Regions from separate parts of the Homo sapiens genome. Here regions 1, 2, 3, 5, 6 and 7 are each linked to region 4. The links are contacts of gene promoters, found by promoter capture Hi-C in blood cells and fetal thymus (Javierre and others, 2016). All regions are on one chromosome and are shown on one strand. The core of a region is centred on a gene start or on the middle of the fragment in contact, and the rest is flanking DNA. Distances in the headings are between cores, read along the strand shown. Region 1 overlaps LIMS1 (LIM zinc finger domain containing 1). Region 2 overlaps SULT1C3 (sulfotransferase family 1C member 3). Region 3 overlaps LINC01594 (long intergenic non-protein coding RNA 1594). Region 4 holds the start of GCC2 (GRIP and coiled-coil domain containing 2). Region 5 overlaps SULT1C3 (sulfotransferase family 1C member 3). Region 6 has its middle 8.5 kb from the start of LINC01594. Region 7 overlaps LIMS1 (LIM zinc finger domain containing 1).

The links. The method cuts DNA at HindIII sites, captures the fragments that hold promoters and counts their contacts. A CHiCAGO score of 5 or more calls a contact.
Region 1: a contact is called between a fragment that was not itself captured here and the fragment with the promoter of GCC2 in region 4, in 8 of 17 cell types (neutrophils, monocytes, total CD8 T cells and 5 more). The highest score is 14.1, in neutrophils.
Region 2: a contact is called between a fragment that was not itself captured here and the fragment with the promoter of GCC2 in region 4, in 3 of 17 cell types (M0 macrophages, M1 macrophages and M2 macrophages). The highest score is 6.1, in M0 macrophages.
Region 3: a fragment that was not itself captured here is called in contact with the fragment with the promoter of GCC2 in region 4 in 3 of 17 cell types (M0 macrophages, M1 macrophages and M2 macrophages); the score reaches 12.9 in M0 macrophages.
Region 5: a fragment that was not itself captured here is called in contact with the fragment with the promoter of GCC2 in region 4 in 1 of 17 cell types (M0 macrophages); the score reaches 5.4 in M0 macrophages.
Region 6: a contact is called between a fragment that was not itself captured here and the fragment with the promoter of GCC2 in region 4, in 2 of 17 cell types (M0 macrophages and M1 macrophages). The highest score is 8.1, in M0 macrophages.
Region 7: a contact is called between a fragment that was not itself captured here and the fragment with the promoter of GCC2 in region 4, in 6 of 17 cell types (neutrophils, monocytes, M2 macrophages and 3 more). The highest score is 11.6, in neutrophils.

The regions. Positions count from the first base shown.
Region 1 is chr2:108,639,327-108,642,062 of GRCh38, reverse strand. All of the region lies in intron 1 of LIMS1 (LIM zinc finger domain containing 1), which reads right to left. Among named protein-coding and RNA genes, the nearest start is that of LIMS1-AS1, 38 kb to the left of the region's middle. The HindIII fragment of the contact is 2,875 bases long and covers 1-2,736 here.
Region 2 is chr2:108,259,196-108,261,895 of GRCh38, reverse strand. It overlaps SULT1C3 (sulfotransferase family 1C member 3), which reads right to left. Exons shown (of 8, transcript NM_001320878.2): 8 at 1,010-1,328. The coding sequence ends at 1,216. Among named protein-coding and RNA genes, the nearest start is that of SULT1C3, 21 kb to the right of the region's middle. The HindIII fragment of the contact is 3,799 bases long and covers 1-2,700 here.
Region 3 is chr2:108,208,667-108,211,366 of GRCh38, reverse strand. All of the region lies in intron 1 of LINC01594 (long intergenic non-protein coding RNA 1594), which reads left to right. Among named protein-coding and RNA genes, the nearest start is that of LINC01594, 7.8 kb to the left of the region's middle. The HindIII fragment of the contact is 847 bases long and covers 981-1,827 here.
Region 4 is chr2:108,447,863-108,450,562 of GRCh38, reverse strand. GCC2 (GRIP and coiled-coil domain containing 2) reads right to left here and starts at 1,357. Exons shown (of 23, transcript NM_181453.4): 1 at 1,283-1,357; 2 at 874-930. The coding sequence starts at 1,288. RefSeq lists enhancers at 1-367, 453-1,434, 1,271-1,530, 1,435-2,417. The HindIII fragment of the contact is 5,578 bases long and covers 379-2,700 here.
Region 5 is chr2:108,241,804-108,244,503 of GRCh38, reverse strand. The region is part of intron 1 of SULT1C3 (sulfotransferase family 1C member 3); the gene reads right to left. Among named protein-coding and RNA genes, the nearest start is that of SULT1C3, 3.2 kb to the right of the region's middle. The HindIII fragment of the contact is 3,149 bases long and covers 1-2,700 here.
Region 6 is chr2:108,225,020-108,227,719 of GRCh38, reverse strand. It overlaps the pseudogene SETD6P1. Among named protein-coding and RNA genes, the nearest start is that of LINC01594, 8.5 kb to the right of the region's middle. The HindIII fragment of the contact is 601 bases long and covers 1,048-1,648 here.
Region 7 is chr2:108,687,136-108,689,835 of GRCh38, reverse strand. It overlaps LIMS1 (LIM zinc finger domain containing 1), which reads right to left. Exons shown (of 10, transcript NM_001193483.3): 10 at 2,590-2,700. Among named protein-coding and RNA genes, the nearest start is that of LIMS1-AS1, 9.9 kb to the right of the region's middle. The HindIII fragment of the contact is 7,259 bases long and covers 1-2,700 here.

The sequences.
Region 1 (2,736 bases), core at 155-2,654, 190 kb before region 4:
TGGGGTATTTGAACTGTTGGGGTGGCCTGGTGAAATTATCATATGCCAAAATGAACTGTTTCTACTATCATCCTCTATCCTGCTCAAATGGAAAATACAATCTAATTTCCCCCAGACTACTAAAAACAAAACAATCATGACATGCAAGTAAAGATAATGAAACTGGGAAGTTCCTTCCCATTTTGTAGCTTCTAGAACAAATGCACTGGATTTTCTTTCAACAGACAGTGAGAAAACAGACAAAGTTTGGCCAGAAAAAGATACGGATTTGTAATTAATATGCCATTTTGCCTTGTCAATTTTTTTTCCTAATTTTTGAATGCACAGGCAAAAAGAAATTATTCATTACCACAGAAGCAAGACAGTGATAAAGAAATAATGTACATTTTCTCAAGCTAGTTTAAAATAAAGAAAATAGCACATTTTTTACATGTTTGTATTAGCATTGCTTATTGGGATTATTATCAAAGTAAGGCAGAGCTACCGTGGCTTTGTTACATATGCTAAAAATAACTGAAGAGTCACTAAAAGATTATCACCTAACAATAATGAAATGAACAAAACAAATTCTCTCCCTATGCACCATCAACCCCATCCCAGGGGCCCAAACCATCCCAAACACTGGAATCAAAGTCCAGAAATTACAATGAGGTTGTAATTGTGAGAAGGCTATTTGCATCTAATTGTCTTCAAGAAACTCCCTCTGAAATGAAACTTAATCTAAAGAGTTAGAGACTCTCTTCGGTGTTGCAGATAGGTTTCTAGCATCCCAAACTTTATGATATCTTAACTGTATTTATTTCCCTTAAAAGGAAAATGAGTGAAATGCCATTATGATATCAGGTTGAAATATTTCTGGAAGAAAACTAGCAGGCACCCATTTAAGTCTTAAAATCATCTAAAATACATCGTTTCAGATGGAATATCATCCAGCCACAAAAAAAGAATTAGATCCTGTCAGTGGTGGCATCATGATGAGCCCGGGGTACATTATGTTAAGTGAAATAAGTCAGGCACAGAAAGACACATGCCAGATGTTCTCACTCATATGTGAAAGCAAAAATACAATTGAACTCACAGAATTAGAACGCAGAGTTGGTTATTAGAGGGTGGGAAGGGTGGCTGGGAGGGGAGAGAGGGAGAGGTTAAGGGACTCAACATTACAGCTGAGTAACAGGAATAGTTCTTGGGTTCCTCAGCACTGTAGGGTGACTAATGTTAACAATAATTTATTGCGCATGTTCAAAAAGCTAGAAGAGGATTGTGAAAGTTCTAAACTCAAGGAAATGATAAATGTTTGAAGTGATGGATATGCTAGTTACCCCGATTTGATCCTTATGCATTACATGCATGCAGCAAAATAACACATGCACCCCATAAATATGTACAATTATTATGTATCAATAAAAAATTCCTCCTCTAGTATCTGAGGGAAAACTATCCTAGTTTTATTCCCAAAGCCCACAGGCAAAAGAGAGTGGCCACTCAGGAGCCCCAGGCAGAGGTGTACTGAGGGACAGCCCAGAGAAGGCAGGAATGGCCCCACGCTCAACCTCAGTGTCCATGGGGTTCTGCAACACAAGGCAGGTCTGAAAGCACTGTGTGGCCTCAGAGACACTGCCCACAACAGGCAGAAAGTACTGCAAATAAATAGGTCAGTTACTCAATCCTAACCAGTTTTAAGTCTTGACGACCTATGTGGTGGCTTGTTTCTTAAGAAGCACCTCTCCCTGGATGATCTCTAGAAAAGTTGCTAACATGAACCAACCAACAAATATCTACCCACAAAGGACTTTGTAAAGGACATGGAGCCTGGGGAAGGGAAAGGAGAAAGACTGAAATCAAGCTCCTCCCAGCACTCTCTCCTTTCTCCATGACACTCCCTGAGTGCCTCAGACACTCTTGTGACGCTCTTACTCCCTGCAACAAGCCATCCTGTCCCTATGATAATGGAGACACTCCCATCACACAGGAAACCCATCATGGAAAGACACGAGACTGGATGGGAAAACAGAATGGGCAGCAAAAAGGTGCAATCATTAAAAGCAGAACACTAACAAATGACTGAACAATGGCAAGCCTCAGTTTCTGTGAGCCCGTGCGCATGGATGTGTAAGTGCTTTGGGATGGGATCACTGAACTGTACTGTTTTGGTTTGGTAAGTTGAATTTGTCAACTTTTATCAGCCCAACAGCAATATAGCTTATTGCAGAAAATGTATGAAAGGCAGAGAAGAATCACGCATATTCCTGCCAACTGGAAACAAGTACTTTAACATTTTGAGCTCTATTCTTTTTAAAATACATGTACACGGCTGGGCACGGTGACTCACGTCTGTAATCCCAGCACTTTGGGAGGCCAAAGTGGGTGAATCATGAGGTTAGGAGTTCAAGATCAGCCTGACCAACATGGTGAAACCCTGTCTCTACTAAAAATACAAAAATTAGCCGGGTGTGGTGGCAGGTGCCTGTAATCCCAGCTACTCAGGAGGCTGAAGCAGGAGAATCACTTGAACCCGGGAGGTGGAGGTTGCAATGAGCTGAGATGGCGCAACTGCGCTCCAGCCTGGGCGATAGAGCGAGACTTAGTCTCAAAAAAACAAAACAAAAACATGTACACATATATGATATATGATCTTAAATAAATGCAGGGTTGTTGCAAGGTGACTTTAGAATTATCTTTAAAAGTGATGATCAACATTTCCAGCACTGGGTGAAACATACAAAGGACATACGA
Region 2 (2,700 bases), core at 101-2,600, 190 kb after region 4:
TACCTTTGAGTTTGTCTTCCATCCAGTTGACTAGAGAATAGGATGTCATTTCCCCTTTGCCTGGCGTAACAATAGCACTGCCTTGTCACTACGATAAGGTAGAGACAATGATCACAACCACAGGGAGGTTACTTTGCTCTGTGTACTGGGAGCTATGTATATTGTTCCTGATTCCCTTTCAAGATGTTAATTGAATACCTTTTTACACTTCTTTAATTTTATTTCTGAGTTTAAGTCTTTCCAAATTTCCCCCCTTTCTTACATGTTACATGCTGTCATCTCTGAGGCCATCAGCCCTGTTGGCATCCACCTACTCCCTAAGGCCCCTCAGGACCTTCTCTTCTAATAAGACAATTGTACTTGGTCATATAAAAAACCAGGTCTTCACTGGTGCATGGTTGAAGCACTAAATTTATATTAAATCTGAGGTCATACCTATTGTTAGAGTGATGCAACAGAGACTCTTTATTAAGAGAATGGCAATGCATAGTTATTAAGAGAATGGCAATGCATAGTCATGGTGCATTTGTCCCAGATCTCAATTTATAGATTAGATACATTAAGCATTTTATTTATATCGTGGGAAGATTTTTTACAGGAGTACTCACTGACTAATTTCTCCAACTCAAACTCTTTCGATTGAGAAAATTAGTTACAAGCCAAAAGTAGAGCAGTAATCATTTTGCAATTGATTGATATTTTGCAGTAGTAATTTATTTTTATATCATTCTATTACAGAAATGGTGACTCTGAAATGTACTTATCAGCTCTTTTCTCTTGGAAGTTATTATTTATACATAAAAGTATAGAATGTACACTTCAAGCTGTTACATTCTCTCTTAACAATGGGGCTTGTAATACCTATGCATAATTTTCTTGTGAAATCTACTTGGGATCACACATGGGAATCCATGATGCAATTGTTTGTTTTTGCTCTGTCTGTCATGCACAATAAAACATACCTGTACTTAAAAAACAAACAAACAAAAAAACTCATGTAGGCGGACTCTGCTCTCTAATTCTCTTATTTTATTTACTGGAGTAACTGGTTTGTTGATATTTTAAATCATGTTTTAATATTATAGCAAACTAGCCACACTATAGGAGATGGACTGAAGCTCATAAGCTCCACATTCAGTCACAGTTCCTTGCTCAACAGAATAAAAGGCGAAATAGTTGGCATAGTCTCTGTCACCTAGTTTGTTGTTGTTCCTCTCAGATCTCCAGGCAGAAGTTCAGTGTGGACCCTGCCATCTTCTTTTCATAATGCTTATCAAAGTTCTCATTCAAAGCCACAGTAAAGTGGTTCTTCCAGTCTCCAGGCATCCCTGTAGGACATCAAAGAAGTTCATGACAGACTCTGCACCCATTCCACCTAACCTTTCTATAGTGAATGGTTCCTAGGCCTACCCACGTGATTTTCCCATGAGTGAGGGTCCCTCAGTCCCACTCCCTCTGGTCTTTCCACTATGAATGGTCCCTCATTTCCACTCCACTTGGCTTTCTTACCACAAGGCACACAGCATCCTTATACTCCTTCCTCAAATGCTGCAGGCCCCACTGAGGTGCCCCACTGTGCTGAATCTTCTGCTCCAGGGTACACTCCTGGCTCTAGTGTACCCAACCCAAAGTCTACAGCTGGTTACCATCATGGACTTCCTGGGGGACAGCCTATCTTATTCTCCCAGGGACAGTGAAAGACGTTACAAGATGTCAGTAACCTCATTGTAGAAGATATTACTTGTTGGGTAAAATTAAATAGTAAATCCACTGGAAATGACATTTGGATACTAGGGATCTTCTGCAAACTGTTGTACCTTGTCAGCCCAACAAATGCTGTACTAATGAATTGTTTCTCTAAGTTATCCTAGTACTTTATTTCTACTGGTTTCCTACCCTTTGACAAGAGGATTAATCTGAAATGCTTGCCCATAATATCAAATTCTAGATTCCAGCTTGCAACTAGTTAATTGGAATGTTCTGGAATGGGGTCACTGTTTTTAAAGGTAATTTTGATACAGCCAGGAGAACTGGTATTAGGGAATTCCTAGTATAGCTTCCACTTTACTTTCTTGTTTATAACTTTTTGCAGCTATTTTTGCATGTATCTAGAATGTTAACTTGTTGAGGACAGAAATAATGTTCATTCATCTGTACACTCACACAACAGGCCATTACTGAGTTGTTTTGAGGTATGAGTCTCTATACTAGGTTCTAGTGGAACAAAACTGAACACTACACTCTCTTCAGGACAGCCTATCATCTTATTTTGGAGACAGACATGAATATCAGTAGTTACAAATCCAAGTACTAAGTGCTTAGCTAGGGTTTTGAACTACAGGGATAGACTAAAGATGAGTGTTCAAAGCTGCTCAGAGGATGCACAAGCCTTCAAAGGGAAGTTCATGGTTGAGGTGGGTATTGTAATCAAAGTGACCAGCACCATCAGCATCACCTGAGTACTTGAGAGAAAAGCAAATTTGAGGGCTACTGCTGGATCTGTGGAATCAGTATCTCTGAGTGGGGACCAGCAATCAGAGCTTTAGCAAGGCCTGCAGGGGTTCTAATGTGACTCAAGTTTCAGAACCACTGACATTGGCTGTCTGCAAACAGGCAGGGTGAAGGGAGCAGAGATTCAAAATTTAACTGAAATGAGTCACTTCTGCCTGAAAATTAGGTTGAAAATTATTTTAGCATATA
Region 3 (2,700 bases), core at 155-2,654, 240 kb after region 4:
CAAAGAAAGTCATGCAAATAGAAAAGGAGGAAGTGAGATGTTCTGTTTGCTAATGATATGATCTTATATAGAGAAAATTCTAAAGACTCCTCCCAAAATCTCTTAGAATTGCCAAAGAAATTCAGTGAAGTTGCAGAAAACAAATTCACCTTACAAAAACCAGTTGCATTTCTGCACACTAACAATGAACTATCTTTTTAAAAAATAAAAAAATAAACCAATTTACAATAGCACCAAATATAAAATAAAATACTTAGGAATAAATTTAACCAAGAATGTGAAAGATCTATATACTGAAAATGGTAAAACATTGATGAAAGAAATTGAAGATGACACAAATAAACTGAAAGATTTTCTGTGTTAATGTATTGAAAGAATATTTTTAAAATATCTGTACTACCCAAAGCCATTCATAGACTCTATGCAATCTCAATCAAAGTCTCAAGGTCATTCTTCACAGAAATAGAAAGAGAAGTTATAAAATTCACATGAAACCACAAAAGGCCACGCCAAAGCCATCTTGAGCAAAAAGAACAAAGCTAGAGGCATCACACCACCAGATTCCAAAACACTTTACAAAGCTATAGTCGTCAAAACAGCATGGTGCTGGCATAAAACAGATACATCATCCAATGAACTAGGATAGAGAGTTCAGAAATAAACACCCACAATTACAGTCTATTAATTTTTGAAAAAAGTGCCAGTAACACACAATGGGAAAAGAACAGTCTCTTCAATAAATGGTGTTGGGAAAATTGGATATCCACATGCAGAAGAATAAAAGTAAACGATTTTCTTACCCCTTATACAGGAATCAACTCAAAATGGGCTAAAGACTTAAAATATATGAGCTGAAACTGTAAAACTACTAGAGGAGAACATAAACATAGTGGTAAAGCTCCATGGCATAAGTCTGGAGCTATGTGAAATCACTGTGATGGACAAAAACAGACAAATGTCACTGCATTGATCTGAAAGCTTTCTAAACATCAAAGGAAACAATTAACAGAATGAAAAGACAACCCACAACCTGGGAGAAAACATTTGCAAATCATAGATTGGATTAGAGGCTAATATTTAAAATACACAAGGAACTCATACAACTGAATAACAAAAAAAAGAAATAACCCTAATTAAAAATGGACAAAGGTTCTAAATAGTAATTTCTCAAAAGAATACATAGAAATGGACTACAGATATAGGAAAAAGTGCTGAACCTCTCCAATCATCAGAGAAATGCAAATTAAATCCACAATAAAATATCATCTCACACATGTTAGATCATCTCTTATCAAAAAGACAACAAATAACAAGTGTGGGGAAGGTATAGAAAAAAGAGAACCCTTGTACAACATCAGTGGCATTGTAAATTAGTACAGCCACTTTGGAAAACAATATGAAGCCTCTTCAAAAAACTAAAAATACAATCACTAATGATCCACAGATAACCAAAAGGCCAGGGGTCCAGTGTAGGTCCTGCAGCTCACCACAAAGAAAGCCAATGATTAGGACAATGAGTAGTGCCAGGAAGAAGGAAGAAGGATTTAACGGGGTGCTGCAACCAAGGAGGTGGGATATCAGTCTCAAATCAATTTCCCTGACCAACTACAATGAGGGGGTTATAGAGCAGGGAACACATGTAACAATATGTAAGAAAACAGGAACTAGAGAGGGGCAAGAAAACAATCATGATGAATAAGGAAGCCTGCACTGCATTGTCTGGATGTGGTGATGGATGAGTTTCAATTCTTTGATACTTTTGTTTAGAGGCCTGATGGTCATTTCCTGGGGAAGGAATGCAGAAAAAATGAATGTAAGTTTCAAGCTTTAAGACCAGAAAGGTCAATTTCTATATTTATTCAAAAAGTTGCCTATGGGACTATTGGGTGGGTTTCACAGCTCTGCCACTACTGGGTATACATCCAAAGAAATGAAATCAGTGCGTTGAAGAGATAGCTACACTCCCATATTGATTGCAGCATTAGTCACAAGAGCCACAATATGGAAACAACTGTAGTGCCTATCTGTGGGTGAATGTATACAAATATTTGGTGTGTATACACAATAGAGTACTATGTAGCCTTTAAAAACATGAAATTGGGGGTGGAGCCAAGATGGTCGAATAGGAATAGCTCCAATCTACAGCTCCCAGCATGAGTGACGCAGAAGACGAGTGATTTCTGCATTTCCAACTGAGGTACCGGGTTCATCTCACTGGGGAGTGTCAGACAGTGGGTGCAGTGCACCGAGCGTGAGCCAAAGCAGGGTGAGGCATTGCCTCACCTGGGCAGCACAAGGGGTCAGGGAATTCCCTTTCCTAGTCAAAGAAAGGGGTGACAGATGGCACCTGGAAAATTGGGTCACTCCCACCCTAATACTGCGCTTTCCAACGGTCTTAGCAAATGGCACACCAGGAGATTATATCCCGCACCTGGCTCAGAGGGTCTTACACCCACGGAGCCTTGCTCATTGCTAGCACAGCAGTCTGAGATCAAACTGCAAGGTGGCAGCGAGGCTGGGGGAGGGGTGCCTGCCATTGCCAAGGCTTGAGTAGGTAAACAAAGTGGCCGGGAAGCTCAAACTGGATGGAGCCCACTGCAGCTCAGGGAGGCCTGCCTGCCTCTGTAGACTCCACCTCTGGGGGCAGGAAATAGCCAAACAAAAGGAAGCAGAAATCTCTGCAGACTTAAATGTCCCTGT
Region 4 (2,700 bases), core at 108-2,607:
TAATTGCTATGCAACTACTAAAAATTAGTTATGCAACTACTATGAAACGTAAAAACCAGGCCATATCCTCTTATAGCTAATGTTACAGGTTGACATTGCTAGCTTTTGATTTAATTGTAAAATCAGTAGGTTGGAGCTAATGCTACTTAAAATTCCTTGGAGCTGTAAAATTATTTCATTCTATTCAAGGCTGCAAGTCTTTGGTCACAAGAAAATTTACGCATAATTACAGCAGCAAGATGAACCGGGTAACATTCAGGCTTTAATTAAAAAATTGAGCTTTACCACTTGAGAAAATTGCTTAAGCCTGTGGTCTCAGGTTTCTCATCTGTAAAAGGAGGGTAACAACAGTACCTATCTCATGGTTATCATGAAGCTTAAACGAAGGAACTGAGTGGTTAGGCAAGCGCCAGAAATTTAGCATGCACACAATAAACCTTAGCAATAAACCACTATCATTTAGAATGATTGAATGTTAAACATTGTACAGGGCCATAAAACTGGACTAATTAAACTCTTTGGCAATGTAGAAACTGGAGCCCACAGATCAGAATCCCTTGATTCCTACCCTATGTCACTGCTCCTTCCACTACACCACTATATAAACCTTCTTAGACTGCTTTATGTTCGAAAAATAGCAGGATCTCCCAGCAGTGCTAACCAGGAGCAGGAAGCAAACAAAAAGTCTTTCTATATCGGGGTGGGCGGGGGAGAAACAGGAAATGGGCGATTGCGCACACTAAAATTGAGATCCCTTGGAGCAAGGCTATTAAAAAAAAAAAAATCAGCGCCCCCCCCTTCCCCATGCCAAAGTTTTCCAATTCATCACCCTTCCACTCTTCAGGAAGCCCGCTATTCAAGTATTCTCTTCACCTTAGATTTCCCGGTCCCAGGGGTAGCTGGTGAAGCCACCCCATCTTGAACAAGATCCTGCAAAACAAAATCAAACCCAGGTGTCAGAAGAACTCTTTTCCTAATTCCACACGGAACGCGTAGAACCCTTACAGGGAAAAACCTTCTATGGAATCAAGTGGTGGAAAGCCTCGTGAGACAGAGAATGAGGGCGGACGGAGGCGGTCGCTGTGGCAATTCGTACACAAACGGGCTCTACGGGGCAGGTAACCCCCAGGGATAGAGTTTACGAAAGATGGGGAGGCGACAGCAGCGCGGGCTTCGGGACACCAAGAGGGAGACTACCGCGCCCTCCCATCGGGCCCACTCCCACATCCCAAATCGCGGCGCGGAAGGCTTGATGGGAGGCAGTGGGCCCGACCTGAGTTACCTCCATCTCCGCCAGCCCGCCGCCGGCCCGCAACCAGCCGCCGCCACCGCTGCACTTCTGTTTGCGCCAGCCTCTGACGTAGGCTCTACTGCAGGTCAAAGGTCGCGCTCTCCGGGCGGCCCGCCCCCCACGTCTCCATAGCTACAGCTCGGCAGCACTTCCGCTTCCGTGTCTGCGTCCGGGAGAAGGTTCCCCGTACGGCGCTAAGGGCGGAGTCCGTCTAGACGTTCTACCTGGGGCTCGACCCCTGGGCCTGCAGGTCACGGAGTAGGTGTGGGTCCCGCCACTGCCGGTTATTGGCATGGGAAGGCGGGCCGATTACCCCTTGGGGCCTCGGGCCTCGGTTTCCACGTCTGTAAAATCTTGTGAGAGTGAGGAACATTGGATTGCAGGACAGGTCTCTCAGTCCTCCAAAGGTGTCCGCTAGCCTGCGAGTGCCTGCGGGACCCACAGCTGGTTCCGGGGGGCTCCTTAGGCATTTGTGGCCAGCATGGTGCCCGGGAGCTCCGTGACTCACAGGTCAGGGATGCGGTAGAGGGCTTCCCTGAGGAGGCATTTCTTGACTCTGGAGGCTGTGAGGAGGTCCCTGGACAGCTCTGCCCTGCAGCCGCCCGGTACTGATGGTGATGTGGTGGAGGCAAGATAGTCGGCCAGGGAACTGGGCAGCCGTGGGAGGAGACTCTGTAGAGTAGGGGGCCCGAGGCCACCCTTTCCCGAAGGGCACGCCAGAGAATCTGTGGTCGAATCCCAGAGCTGCTGCTGTGTCCTGATTGGCGGTCCAGTGCTCTGAGAGCCTTTCTGTTAACTGCTGAAGTGGTTTGCTGCGCTTTCACCTTCCCATTAATGTTTTCCATACACTCCCATAACTAAGGTAACCTGAAGATAACCTAGTTTCCTGTAGTTTAAATGGTCAAAAGGTTGAAGAGGCAGCACACAGTATGTATCGAGTAAATGGTAGCTGATTATTACTAGGTAAAAGAAGTGTTATAAACGAGAAAGAACAGCTATTGTGGACATCTACTCTTTGTCTTTGACAGTGTGTATCACCTATGGTGTTTGTAGGATTGGTTCAGGGGTGGTGTGTGACCTAAGATGTACAGTCTCCACGTACAGTAACACACGTGTGTGTGTACACGTGTGTGTGTACACGTGTGTGTGTGCACGTGTGTGTGTGCACGTGTGCGCGCACGTGTGTGTGCACGTGTGTGTACACACATATATGCACACACATGTATACACACACACACACACAATCCCCAAGTATACATTGTTATTAATGGTCCAGATTAATGCCATTCAAAGTAGTTCCCCAAGTTAAGAGCAACTTACGGTAGACTCCTATTTCAATTAATAACTTGAAAAAATCACTTGCAATAAAATAGCAGGTTAACTAGATACTACACACATTCCAATCCTGT
Region 5 (2,700 bases), core at 170-2,669, 210 kb after region 4:
AAAAAAATAGGGAAGGCAAAAATATAGGCAAAACACCATTCCCAATAGGAAGAGAGGCGATACCTCATAACAACTGTAATTGGAACTCCTTTCTGTAGTATTTTTTCTTCTTTTATGGTTTATAATGGTTCTATCTCTTTTATAATGTCCCCTTAACCTGGGAAAAGTTAATTTTCCAAACTTAAAAATGCTTGGCTTAGAGTTGAGCTAGGGGGAAGGGAACCCAGAAGTGTGATATGCTGGCAAAAGGGTAAAAATTTCTTACCAGTTGGGCTTTTGGCTTCTCTCTCCCTGTGTGAGCCAGTAAAGGGGATAATAAGGATCATTGTTTATATTCTCTGTGAATTTATAATTAATGAAAAAGGATTTTTGTTGATCTTAAGCTGTAGACAATTTGGTGTGCTTTGCATGTCTTTCTGTATGGTTCTGTCAAAGAAAAGATACCTTAGGTTAGGATGCAGGCCCAGGACCCCACAAGTCTGCGGTTCAAGCCAGCCCAACATAATAGTAACAAACTTGGCCACAGGCCTCCATCTTGTTTCATGTCTGGATACATGACCTGTAACTACATGGCAATAATATACTTTACTCTCAGCCTTTTTACAATGGTGGCTGTCTTCTTGTGCTAAGTCAGTTCCTGAGTAAGGGCCAAAAAATCATATAAGCCAGTTTGTCAATCGGGTGGTGCTAGCTGATTCATCAAGGGTAGAGTTTACAAAATATCTTAAGCACTGATCTTGAAAGCAGTTTAGGGAGGGTCAAAATCTCATAGTCTCTTGCTGCATGACTCCTAAGGGATGGTTTCAAGACTTCTGGCTAGTTTTTTGGTCTTGTTCCCAGGCAAGAGGGAAGTATATCTTTTTTTTTTTTTTTGAGATAGAGTCTTGCTCTGTCACCCAGCCTGGAGTGCAGTGGCTCAATCTCAGCTCACTGCAAGCTCCACCTCCCAGGTTCACGCTGTTCTCCTGCCTCAGCCTCCCAAGTAGCTGGGACTACAGGCACCCACCACCACTCCCGGCTAATTTTTTGTATTTTTAGTAGAGACAGGGTTTCACCGTGTTAGCCAGGGTGGTCTCGATCTCCTGACCTCGTGATCCACCTGCCTCGGCCTCCTAAAGTGCTGGGATTACAGGTGTGAGCCACCGCGCCCGGCCCTGGAAACATATCTTAAGAAGGAGCTGTTACCATCTTTGTTTTAAAGTATAAACTGTAAACCAGGTTCCTCCCAAAGTTGGTGAAGCCTGTCCCCAGGGATGGGCAAGGACAGCTCGGGCGCTGGAAACAAAATGGAGCTGTTTGGGTCAGATGTCTTTCACTGTCTCAGTTACAATTTTGCAATGATAGTTTCAAAAGCTGCTTACCCTCCTTTGAAAATGCCTTGCACACTCACGGTTAAATCATAACCTAATTAAGGCTCATTGGTTTCACCTGTAAGGTTACTTTTTGTAAAATTGAAAAGTCAAAAATCTTAACTGCTTGGCATGGCTAAAGTCGAGTAAAAAGGGATTTAAAAGGATTTTCTTAAAGAGTGCTCAGCTTAATTAAAAATGGATATTCAAGTTATAGGTATATTTAAAAGTTTTTCTGGAAAAAGCCTTTTTTCCTCTCAGTCGACTGAATTATTTTTCTCTATTTTTTGTCTTACCACTCCTAATGCATGCATGAGAGGCCCAAAGATAACTTCTGGTAGCATGGGACTCCTTGGGAAAAACAGAGGAGGTGCCACAGACCCTGTTTTGGGAAAATAAAAAGCCCTCTGTTTTTCCCACGAAGCCCCCAAAATTAAAAGTAGATAGTTTCCTCTCAAAATCAAAGACTCTGTTCTGTTATGTATTGTGTTATATACTGTTTATGTTTTGGGGGTTTCACATTACTTCACATTATGAGAGAGATTTGCTGTTTAATAACCAGGTAGAAAATACACTGTAAGGGACGGCTAGGAGTAGTAATAAATCAGAGAAGCATGCTCTTGGCCACCTGAAAGGTATGAAAACATCCCCACCCTCCACTAAAAAATAAGACTTCTATGGGGGGATGGGCTAATTGCCTTCAGCTGTGTCTGCTTATTAGGCACTAAAAAATGCATGGTACCTGACCCTGCTCCTCCAAGGGCTCCACCCTAAAGCCAGTAATCCAATTAAAAAACTGGCAAATGAAAAATCTTAACAAGTGCTGAATCTTCTGTCTGTGCTGCTATATATGTTTTGTGTGTAATGTCTGCAAAAAGAGCTCTAATTGATTGGCTTAAAGAAAAATAATTGCTTAAATCAAATACGTTTTTAGTTCACATGGCTTTAAGAATTAAAAATACTCTTAAGAATTATTGGTAGAATACAAGTGTCGTCAAAATGCAAATAGGTGGTCTGAATCATATAACTTAGATACCAGGGTTGCTAAATGTTCCCAGGTTGTATATTGCCTGCTTTACAGATAAGTAAGGCCTGGGACACATGGAGTTAGATACTGAAAAGTCAAACTTTATTTGCGTTTCTGTCTGGGTCCTAGGATCCACACCTGGTATATAATTAAAATCGCTTACTAACCAGGTTTTCCAGTGATTTTTTTTTTTTTTTTTTTGAGATGGAGTCTCACTTTGTCACCCAGGCTGGAGTGCAGTGGCGCCATCTCTACTCACTCCAAGCTCCACCTCCCAGGCTCATGCCATTCTCCTGCCTCAGCCTCCTGAGTAGCTGGGACTAC
Region 6 (2,700 bases), core at 99-2,598, 220 kb after region 4:
GGTCCATGCCAGAACATTTCTTGGAATAGGTGGTCAAGCAAAGCTTTTACATGCAAAGACATGAGATCGATGACTGTGGGAAGAGAAAAACTAAAAAATGCTGAGCGGTCTTGATACTTAAGGAACTGTGTCAAATGTTGCAATAACAGGAAGGTAGGGAATGTTCATTTTCATTTAAGTACATGGGCAGAGGTTTGTCCCTGAGATAGAGCAAAAAAAGTTATAATGAGGGAAGTTCATATAAAACTGAGGGCCAGCCATCACAGTATATCCAGCCTCAAGTTATGTCAAATGTAGTTTGATCAGCTTTGTCAGTCTCTCCTCTGTTTTAATACAGGCTCAGATAAACTGTCCCTGAGCAACTCAGGGATAAGGGAAATTAGAAGTTGTAGATGGCTGAGTGCAATAGTCTTCAGGGCCAGAGTTTCCTGAGCATTGTCCCTGGAAAACCAGTGGAAACGTCTGTTGAGCACGCTAGCAATGGTGAGCTGTTTTATGTCCCTAAGATGAGGCATTTTAAAAGTGGAATGCCTAAAGTGAAAAACATAAATATAGCATAAAATGTTGTATTAAACAGCCAAGAGTTGAACCCCAAGGGTATCCAGTCTATCAGATCCCAGGAGGTCTTTGGATGGAAATCTCTGGATTATACACATTGCTTGTTGAGTTTCTTGACGTGAAGAGTCAATGCTCTGGGGGATGTTGTCCACAGTATGGTTTCCTTTTTTTTAAAAAAGCAAGTGTTTCACCAGACAGTCCTAGGAGCTCACACAGTGGATTGTCTGTGGGTGAATCCAGCAGTCTTAAGTGGTTTTCAGTTTTTCCAGGTTCAGTAAGTTGTCAGGCTTCAAATCTTGGGACTTCTTCAGATCCTGGGGAAAAGGCCAGCTTCGGGGTATCCTAGAGCCTTGATAGAGATCTGTGCAGTCAAGCTGTGGTTCTCAGTAATGCTGAGTCAGAAGTGAGAGAGAAAAATTAAAATATTGGTCTGGAGGGTCGGAAACAGATATTGAAGGAAACTGGAAGTCCTGAAAACTTGGTGAAGCTTGACAGTGTGTACAAGGTGACAGGAAATAACACTGTCTTTTGTTTTCACAGTGGGAGAAATCAAGACAGTTTGCTTATCCATCAATTATTACAGTTTTTAAACATATTCAAAGTAGCATAAAGATAATGAATATGATCAGAATCTGATATCCCTGAAGGATGTTGTGGGTTGAATTGTGTGCCCCAAGAGACATGTTCAAATCCTAACCTCTGGTGACTGTAAACATCATCCTATTTAGAAGTAGTGTCTGTATTAGTCTGCACTAAAATACAATATTCTGGTGTGTTCAAACAACAGAAATGTGCTTCTTATAGTTCTTGAGGAAGGGAAGTCCAAGCCACATTAAAGGTACTGTGCCTACCTGCTAAGGAGTTCAGAAAGTTCAAAAAGCAGTATGGATAAGGAGATGATAAAAGGGAAGAGGGCAGCCCAAAGATCATCTATATCCCCAAGCTGATAGCATAATGAAGATACCTACTTTGTGACAATGTTTTATTGATTCTGCAAACTTATCTCACAGACCTAAAAAAAAAACCTGAGCAATATTTATTCAGTAATTAGGAGGTCTATGCCCCACTGAGTCAGAGAAAGCAGCAAGCTTGATAGGTTTGCTATGGTCAGAAGATGATCTTGCATCAGTTATTGGAACTGACTAGTTAGCAGGTTCCCTTTTGCCTGAAGGAACGCTAATAAGAACACAATTCTAAGCTGATATTCATCGATGTTTGAAAAGAAGGAAAATTTGAATCCAAGTCCAAGTTAGGAAACCCGAAATCATCAGTGTTTTGTTAATCCTCGTGAGGGCTTTTCTCCTGGCTTACAGATGTTCACCTTCGTGCTGTGTCCTCACGTGGCCTTTCCTTGGTGTGTGCTTGTGAAGAGAGAGCACAGGCTCTCTAGTGTCTTTTCTTAGATGGGCACTAATCCCATTAGACCAAGGGCCAATGTTATGACCCCTTTTACCCTTAATCACTTTCTTCCTCCAAATGTAGCTCCACTGGTATTTAGAGCTTCAAAGTATGAATTTGGTGGGGGGACATGATTTAGTTTACAATTGGGTCTTTGCGGGATGTAATCAAGTTAAATGGGACCATATGAATTAGAATGGGCCATAATTCAATGATTAGTGTCCTTAAAATAAGAGGATATTTGGACACAAATGCACAGAAGGTCAAACAGGGTACACACACACATACACACACACACATACACACACACACAGGGCAGAAGGCCCTATGATGATGGGTGGAGATGAGAGTGATACGTCTCACAAGTCAAACTAGCCAAGGGTTACTGACCACCATGTGAAGCTAGAAGAGGTGCTGAAACATTCTTCCTAAGTCTCAGGGGGACCACAGACCTGCTGACACAATTCCAGATTTCTAGCCCTCAGAGCTGCCAGGGAATAAATTTAAGCCACTCACTTTGTAGTACTTGTTACAGCATCCCTAGGAAATGAATGCAAATTTGTTAGAGTCTTCTATTAAAAGACAACATTTATCCCTACAGTCACCCCCATACCTCCTTTTGATCAAAGGCAATCTCAAAGAAATATCATTCTTGACCATGAACTACTAACCCATGGTGGGTCTCATTAGATGTGGCCTCAGTATTTCACAGATAAAGGAAAAAGGACAATTTGCCATATAGGA
Region 7 (2,700 bases), core at 182-2,681, 240 kb before region 4:
CAGTTGGAGAAGGTTCCCTCCTACATCTTGGCTCCTGGGCTCCTCTTGGGGCTGGTGCCAGTGCCACTGTGGGACTGCTTGTGGGCTGAGGTATGAGAGAACAGGGAAAAGAAAAATGGGGAGGAACGAACTTCTGGATTCCCTCGGAATGTTAGGAGACCCTTTTCCCGTTACTTGAGCCAGAAATAGAGGGCATCTTCTGGAGCTCTTTCTATCTGCACCCTGGTGCCCACTGCCAGGTTAGTCACGGGATGCCGTAGGGGAAACATGGTTATCTCACCACTGGTTTGGTGGTACTTCAAGTTCTGGTCTTCTTGGGAAAGCTGCCTGCAACTATTTAGTTTTCACTGTCTTCCAATAGCTGCTCCATGCATTCTGTACTGTCTCCTGGCTGGACTCCATGCAGGAAGCCTGTCTCCTCCACAGTGTGCACTCACTCAGGTCATTGTTCAGTTTTATTGTTGGCATTTGTTTGCTTTAATTTTTCAGAATGGCTTCTTAGAGGTCGCTTCTTGTTTGCATAGTTTGTCAAACATCAGTTAAAGCCAATATGGTTTCCACCATCTGCTGCTGGATCTATGTGCAATGGGGAGGAGGCACGCCCCGGGCCATTTGCAAGGGTGTTCCGGCTTTTACTTCCTAACACTGGCACCGGCACACACACAGGCTGTGTGCCCTGGGCATATGGACATGGCTTGGGCTTGCTCTAATCTCTGCCAGCTATGAGCCTTCAGTCCATTTGGGTAGTGTGAAGAGTTTACTAAGCTCCCTCTGGCTCTCCGACCTCCCGGAGCTCCCTCTTACATCCATGACTAATCTGCAGGTCATTTGCTCGTCTCCAAAGGCCCAGAGCCTCAGGCTAGGAGTCAGTGGCCTTTCTTCCTCCTGGTCACTGATATCACCACCTTAACTAGCCATGCTGCAAATCAAAACCTTCCTCACTCTTGCCTCCAGCCCCTGCAACGAGGTGGCAGGGGAGCTTATCTCCACAGGCTGCCCTGCTGGGGGCCGCTGTGTGTGTTATCAACAGCTGGGGTAAATGGGGGTAGCAGCCTGGGCAAAGATGCCACAGACACAGGCTGGTCTTATCCAAGGCTCACTTTAATTCTTCTTTTTTTTCTTTAGGGACAGGGTCTGTCTCACTCTGTTGCCCAGGTTGGAGTGCAGTGGTGTGATCACAGCTCACTGCAGCCTCAATCTCCTGGGCTCAAATGATTCTCCCGCCTTAGCCTCCCATGTAGCTGGGACCACAAGTGTGCACCACCATGCCTTTTTTGATTTTTTTTTTGTACAGACGGGGGTCTCACCAAGTTGCCCAGGCTGTTTTTGAACTCCTGAGCTCAAGTGGTCCTTCTGCTTCAGCCTCCCAAAGTGCTGGGATTACAGGCGTGAGCCACCGCGCCTGGCCAGCTTTCATTCTTAAACACATCCCCATTTGTGCGGTGCCTTTGGTAAAATTACAGAATGCTAAATGGTTTGTCCAGCTATACAGTTACATTTTGGAAAGATTTGTTGACCTCCTCACTTCATCATGCTAGAAGTGGGAACTTTGATTCTCTTTAAAGAATCTGAAGATGAAGGGAAGACCAAAGCATAATTTGAGAGAATGGCAAGACTGAGAAAGGTTTCTGTAGCATGGTGCATGCATGTGTGTGTGCGTGTGTAGGGAGAGGCAAAGGGTTCTGACAAGAGGAAGAGGCTGAGGAAGCAGGCTCATCTCCACAACGTGCTGCTGCCACCCAATCATAGGGTCTCTTGCAGCAATTCCAGTCCTGATCTCACAAACCTCATACCCTAACTACGGTCCCCCTAATTGGGGTCCCTCCTCAGAGCTTTCCTAAGGCTCCCTAACTTTTCCCCTCACCTCGGTTGAGGCCTCCATGGTTTGGACTTGCTGGTTTTGCCTTGCTCTTCCCTTGATAAATACACCATTTATTCCGGTTCAGCCCTTGGAACTTTAAACCTTAACCCAAGCCTCCTCCACCCCACTATATTAGCCCAAGCCTAGAGTATCAGATCTGGATATTTGGGTAAAGATGCAGACAAATTTTGAGTTGAAAAAGAAAGAACTTAATTGCACCATTGCACTCCAGCTGAGGGCAGGGCACAGTGGCTCATTGCCTGTAATCCCAGCACACCATTGCACTGCAACCTCTGCCCCCTGGATTCAAGTGATTCTACTGCCTCAGCCTCCCAAGTAGCTGGGACTACAGGTGCACACCACCACGCCCTATTAATTTTTGTATTTTTAATAGAGATGAGGTTTCACTGTGTTGGCCAGGCTGGTCTCAAACTCCTGACCTCAAGTGATCCACTGGCCTCGGCCTCCCAAAGTGCTGGGATTACAGGTGTGAGCCACTGTGCCTGGACTGTATCTCCTTCTTAATAATAATAATAATTAAAAAACCCAGCATTTACATTGAGTAGAGGGAAGACTACACCATTGTTCTAGATGGTTCAAAATTTGGCTTATCTATAGTAACCAGGTCATTTTATTCATTTACTTGTTTCTATTATATATTCATGAATACTTCAATTTTCATATGTATTTCACATATATACCATTCAAAATAAACAATATACAACAGGTTATTGTTAACAATTATAAACATTTATTAAGCACCAAGAATATACTGTGGTGGTTGCTATATGAAAACATAATTACCAATATAGTATCCCTGCCATTGAGCTTACAATCTA